Linked DNA regions of Homo sapiens: region 1 is linked to region 2. The links are contacts of gene promoters, found by promoter capture Hi-C in human tissues and cell types (Jung and others, 2019). All regions are on one chromosome and are shown on one strand. Each heading gives the region's core, a stretch centred on a gene start or on the middle of the fragment in contact. The rest is flanking DNA. Distances are from core to core; before and after follow the strand shown.

Region 1 (3,210 bases), core at 49-2,548, 410 kb before region 2:
GTCTTACTGGAATCCAGAAAAATGTGCCTACACAGAATGGGTTGAAGTAATCAAATAATCAATATAAAATAAATACATCCTGGAATGAATGTGTGTGTGTGTATATAAAGTCTGAGTGCTTTTATTTCATGGAAATTGCTTTTGCTAGGTATTGCTTTGGGAATTCAGTGAGTTTAATTAAATACGCAAAATCCGTCCGTTATTAAAATACTGATGTAGTAACTTAAAACCAAGTGGTTAATGAGCTGCAAAGCTCACTTTAAAAACAAGCTGCTCTGTACATTTCATATGTACACAATACTTCTTTTAATTGTCAATATTGATTTCAGCCACGAAAATTAAACTGCAGAAACAAACTTAATAACTTGATTTTGATGTTATTACTGTTACAAGAAGCCTCTTGGGAACAAATTCCCACTTGAAGTTTCCTAAATTTTTAATAAAAGACTAGAGAGTGTGACAGCTTAGTAACAGAATTTCAGAGATAGCTTAAGATATGGTTTGGATGTGTGTTCCTTCCAAATCTCATGTTGAAATATGATCCCCAATGTTGGAGGTGGGGCCTAGTAGGAGGTGTTGGATCTTGAGGGCAGATTCCTCACAAACAGCTTGATGGTATCCCATGGTAATGAGTACCTTGAGATCTGATTGTGAAAAAGAGTCTAGGACCCCCTCCTTTCTCTCTTGCTCCCTGTCTCCCCATGTGACACACTGGGTCCCCTTCATATTCCACCATGATTGGAAGCTTCCTGAGGCCCTCACCAGAAGTGCTTCATGTACAGCCTGTAGAACTGTAAGTCAAATAAACCTCTTTTCTTCATAAATTACCCAGTCTCTGGTAATCCTTTATAGCAATGCAAACAAACTAACACAGCTTAATTCTACCTGAGCTCAAGATTCTTCTATACACCAGGGAACTATTTTATTTACAAAAAGCTATTTCTCTTTGTATTTTATATCAGATTTTAAAAAGGGTGGAAGCCATGAGAATGTTAAGGAAACATTATTTAATGTGAACCAAATTAGTGAACCAAATTTCTAACTATATTTTAAAATGTCATAAAAAACCATAAAAATAGTGCTCAAAACCAATAATTGGTGAAAGCAGGCTAGTTAGACAATGACTGTTGATTGATCTGCAGTCAGTTCAACACAAAATTCCCAGAAAGCTGGACCTAGATAATGCTTCCTTTAGTTGAAGTAAAATCATCTTCATCATCATCATTACTTGGAAAACACACATTCCTTCTAGGAATACTTTGCTTAAAATTACTTGAGAAACCTGTGTTTGTTCAAAAAGGAAAAGACGACTAATGTATTAATACCCTCTGGATATTTGATCTGATGCATGAAATGCTTTCTGGTCTCTAGATAATTCTGCATTTTCTATCTACCTTTCCCTCTACGTTCAATGGCAAAATAACTGTTATGACTTGACTTCTCATTAAGTATAAGACTAAGCATGAATGTAGTCTTTCTTTTTTAAAGAAAAAAGTGTAAATCTATATGAAGAAGTTATTTTAATTTTAATAGGTCTCATAATTGAGAAGTTATAAATTGATTAAAATATGTATTTAAAATTTACCATAAAATTTATGAGAAGGATGGAGTTCACTTACTGTCATTGTAATATCACTTTCAAAATCTTCTGTTAAGAAAATGTTTAAATTGTGTAGAACAGAAATGGAACAAAGAAGAAAAAATTTAAAGTTATCTTTGATAAATGGGTTATTGAAGTAAGACTTAGTGACACTAATAAGCTAGTATCTGAAAGAGAGAGACAGAGAGAGAGATAACATTGCTAATGCAATCAGCTCATTTACTTTATAAAATGAATGCTCTTAATCGGAGATAATAATTTCATAACTTACCTCTGCATACTTTAACTTCAATGTTTTATGCATTTCTCGAAAACGACTGTAACGCCTGAATACAGTCCATGTCTCATCTAGGACAGTAATCTATTAACCAGGAAAACCAAAATGAATAAGCATTAAGAAGCAAAAGTCACTAAAATTTTTCAAAAGAATTTAAAAATTAAATTTAAAAAAAGTGATTAGCATGTAAAATTTCTCTAGAACTGAAAACATTAATCTAGCTGCATAAATACAACTTAGAAATAATAAATGTACTTTACTTAAACATGCAGCTTTGGCTCTCAGATCTTGTTACAGGCAGCTTGTCTATGTAAAGTGAAGGGCAGATGGTCATCTCTTAATTGGTTATAAAAAGTGTCCCTTTTTATAGAAACACTTTTAAAGAAGAGGAGGTGGAAGAGGAAAAAAATCTCACTGCCTCTCAGTCATTGTTAGTATAATAACACAACAGTATATTTTGCTTTTTTTCAGAGGGAGAATAATCAATTCAGCCTTTAATAGGCTAGCTGGAGTGGAAACTCTGTTGCACATCAGCTCACATATGAAAGGTCACAGTGACAAGAAGAGGCAGGTAGACCACATCAGCCTTTACAATCACACCTAAAGCACAGGCCAATGAATCTCCAATTCCTTTCTCCACTTCCCACCTTTCTTCTGCGCTCTAGACCCACATACCCAACTTGGCACATCTTTCTTCCCATGTCACCCAGGAACCTCCAATTCAATTTGTCCAAAACCATACTCAACATATTCCCTCCAGTCCCAGCTCTGGTATTCTCCATTTCAAAGCATTCTACCACCACCTACCCAGCAATGCCAGCCAGAGATGCTGAAGTCATCCCTGACCTCCCTTCTCTTCCTATCCCTGCATTCAAGCAAGTGCTAAGTCTTGCTCCTTTTGCCTTCTAAACATTTCTTAGAACTTTATCCTTCCATCCTTTGCCATCAGCACCATTTGACTTTAGGCCTTTGGGTCTCCTGTGGACTCTGCAAGAGCATCTCCCAACTGTCCACCCCACATCTGCCCTCTCCAATCTCTTTTCTGCATGACTGAAAACAGATCTTTTAGAACTCAAATCTAACCATTTGATTTGGGAGGTGACCCTCCTTAAGGCGAGCTTCATGCTGCTCATAGAAAAAGACCTACATTTTTAACCTGCCCACAGCAGCCTGTCTGCAGGCCTCTCCTGCTAGGTGTCTTCACTCCTGCTGCATCCCTGAATGCGCATATTCTCTGCCACCTCAGGGCCTTTGCACGGGCCATGCTCCTTTATGGGAACTTAACTTGCACATAAGGGAAATGCTCTTCTCAAGCACAATAATTCAGCCTGAT
Region 2 (3,564 bases), core at 156-2,655:
TTTCCTTGTCTATAATGAAGGTATGAATAAAACAGACTTTCCAATCAGGACCAGCTATATAAAAGATCCTCCCTTGAAAGTCACACACACATACACACACAGCCACACACACACACTCACACACAGCCACACATACCCACACCCATACCCACACCAAAACTCTTTTACATACACACACAGATGCACTCAAACCAATACAACTCTATCACACACACACATATACCCAAAACAAAAAACCTTTTTATTATATTTTGCCTTACCCATTTATCCCTTGGGAAATTGTATTGCACAAAATTATTTAGTAAGTTAAATTCTTGTCCCTCATTTTATGAGGTTACGACTTTGGGGTTGGGGGAGAAGGCACTGCTCCGAAGTCACATCATCAACCAAGGTGGAGAAGGCATCCTGAGAGGATCTCTATTCTAGAAGCAATGGATAAGAACAGGGGAAGGGCCACCTTATGGGAGAGATGCCAGCCTCAAACACCCTATAAAAAGCAGTAACTTACTGTCTGTCTCTTCTAATAGAAAGCAACACTTGGGGCCAAAATATTTTTTTTAAATTTACTGCTATATCTTTAGTGCCCAGAACTATACCTGGCACAGTAAGTGCTCAGTAAATATTTGCTGAATAGACGGAGCTAGGGACTGGCGGTTCCACTTTGGTGCCTCTAGGAGTGCTCCTCTCCCCATGGGAAACATGCTCAGAAGCAGGAAGTTCCAGGTAACATAAACTTGTAACTTCACTCTCTTCTCTTTGACCTGTCACCCTTGAGCATTTGAGACTGAATTGCAAAAGTCTTAGAGAGAAGAGGTAGGGGAAAGATTGACCTATTTTTCCCAACCCACCCATCTCTTTCCCCACTGGTAGGGTCTAAATGGGGCATCAATTAGTATGTTAGAATTCATCTCTAGCCTGGGACAGGCATGCCTTCTAAGAATCCTATCATGAAAGATTTGTAAGCATAAGAATCTTTCATTTATCTATTACGTAAATCCAGATTTATTAATTGAATTTGTTTAAATCAAATTATTTGTGCTATAGATCTCACATTTTCAACAAATTCCTACAACTAGTATGTCTTTGCTCATAAGCTGAAGGAAAATTAGGGGTGAATTAAAACTAAAAATGGTTTGAAATTCTCATAGTCCTCTCAGCAAAGCCCTACTGATTGATACAATAGACCACTGCTAAAGCGGCTTTAACAATAGTGGACCATTTTGGATATTATCTGTGTATAGAAAGACACAGAGTTTGACTCTGTTTGGAAAATCAGACGCTAAATAGCCCCTGAAGCCGAGCAGCCTGTTATGAAAACGGAGGGGTGGTAGGCCCTTCTAATTGGCCAGGGTATTTACCCAGAGCTCTGGCTTTCACATAAAAGGCAGGAACCACTGAAGTCAGTCCCCGCTTCCAGTCAGAGTTCAAGTTAAAACAGAAAAAAGGAAGATGGCAAGAATATTGTTACTTTTCCTCCCGGGTCTTGTGGCTGTATGTGCTGTGCATGGAATATTTATGGACCGTCTAGCTTCCAAGAAGCTCTGTGCAGATGATGAGTGTGTCTGTAAGGACTTTTTTATGCTTTTCATTATCTTTCTATTACATAATTGAAAATATATCCACTAATAGCATAAAATCGAATTATACTTTGAAGTGAATCTTCTCCAATGTGTATGTTATCAGCTTTGTTTCTTCTGGTCTGCATGTTTGGTATCTTACTACGGAGAATTCACTTGGCTGAGTTTTGTTGCAGCTTTAATATCTTGGCTGTCTTCTTTCTCTTGGATAGACACCAGCTATGAACTGGGAATTATCAGTCACTCTGATTTTCTAGTTTTTCTAATATACATTGCCTTTTACTGTTATAAAATTCAGGAGCCTAAAATGTAATCATTTAAATTTTTTTTCTTCCAGATACTATTTCTCTGGCTAGTGCTCAAGAAGATTATAATGCCCCGGACTGTAGATTCATTAACGTTAAAAAAGGGCAGCAGATCTATGTGTACTCAAAGCTGGTAAAAGAAAATGGAGCTGGAGAATTTTGGGCTGGCAGTGTAAGATAATTTAAACACCTATTGACGAATATTGCTCTTAACCTTTCCTTGATTACCTACCTTCAACCTATTTTAATGCTTAATACTAGTTGTTAAGAACCATGTAGTGATTGTAGATGGAAATGCAAAAATTCAGGTATATTTGCTATTGCATTTTAAAGAAAGAAAGATCAATTTCGTAACAAAACCAAATGTAGGTTAATGTGATATTTTGGTAAAAAAAGAGTCAAATACATGGGGGCTTAAACATCCCAAAGAATTTGAATCTTATCCGAAAACGTCTGAGAAGATTTGCCAAGTAGAAGGCATGTGTGTTGGCAGTGAGTCTAAGTATCAATATTCTTTTAGGAAACTTTGCACCCTAATTAATTCGAAAGAATCAGCGTTCTTCAGTTAAAATATACAGGGGCGGTCCCTGGGGAGGGATGAAGCAGGGATGATTTTCTGTCCTCATCTGCAACCCTAAAGGTAAGTTCTAAATTAATGAAGGATTAAATTTAAAGCCATTTAAGTCTGTTCATTTGAATTGTTGAAAACTGAGAAATTTGCATCATTTAAAATAAGTGTCTACAGTACTTTAAAAAAATGTACTGTCTTTATATATTTATTTATGGGTTCAAAAAAGATTTCAGGCAACTCACAAGATTGCGTAAAATAAAGTCATGCTAAAGTAGCGAAATAAGACTGGGCCACTAAACAGTAGATGCACAATTCCTGCGGGTTAACTTAGTGCTCCAAGTAAACTTCGGATTTGCCGCAGCGCCCCCTGGACCCCGGAGTGAAAGGGAGGTATTGGCAGCTATGATTCTCACTATCAGCAAAGAGGACGCCTGCGAGTTTCTCAGAAGACACTCAGCATCAGCTTTTTCCTGATTGCTATTCTTCTGGGCACTTAGGTTTATGGTGATGGCCAGGACGAGATGGGAGTCGTGGGTTATTTCCCCAGGAACTTGGTCAAGGAACAGCGTGTGTACCAGGAAGCTACCAAGGAAGTTCCCACCACGGTAAGCATCTCAAAAGTGACTAGACAAGGACTCAGATCTTGGGGCAATGTAGGCCGGTGTTAAAAATGCATCATGCAACTTACAAGTTGTATAGAACAAAGCCTCCAACTTTCAGTGGCGACTTTTCTGAGATAATGAGGTTTGGGGGACCATTTATAACTACTGTCAAAGTTGAAAGATGAGTAAACTTTCTCTATACCACCCCCTTTTGTTTTATTTCAGTTTACTACTTTTTGTCTCATCTTTTTTCTATATTTTTTCAGCTTTATTGGGTTATAATTGACAAATAAAAATTGCATACATTTAATGCATACATTATGTTTTGATATACATTGTGAAATGATCATCACATTCAAGCTAGTTAACACATACATCACCTCACATAGTTACCTTTGTGTGTGTGTGTGTGTGTGTGTGTGAAAACATTAAGATCTGCCCTCTTAGTAAATTTCAAGTATACAATACAGTACCTCTTTTGTTTTAGATGCAAGTTGTCTTGCAAAGCA

Evidence for each region. Contacts are between HindIII fragments. The study calls those that stand out against the background at their distance.
Region 1: a contact is called between a fragment that was not itself captured here and the fragment with the promoter of OTOR in region 2, in 1 of the 25 tissues and cell types used here (mesendoderm cells).

The regions. Positions count from the first base shown.
Region 1 is chr20:16,334,055-16,337,264 of GRCh38, forward strand. It overlaps KIF16B (kinesin family member 16B), which reads right to left. Exons shown (of 26, transcript NM_024704.5): 24 at 1,872-1,961. Among named protein-coding and RNA genes, the nearest start is that of KIF16B, 240 kb to the right of the region's middle. The HindIII fragment of the contact is 3,874 bases long and covers 1-3,210 here.
Region 2 is chr20:16,746,953-16,750,516 of GRCh38, forward strand. It overlaps OTOR (otoraplin), which reads left to right and starts at 1,406. Exons shown (of 4, transcript NM_020157.4): 1 at 1,406-1,564; 2 at 1,915-2,054; 3 at 2,951-3,058. The coding sequence starts at 1,450. The HindIII fragment of the contact is 9,309 bases long and covers 1-3,564 here.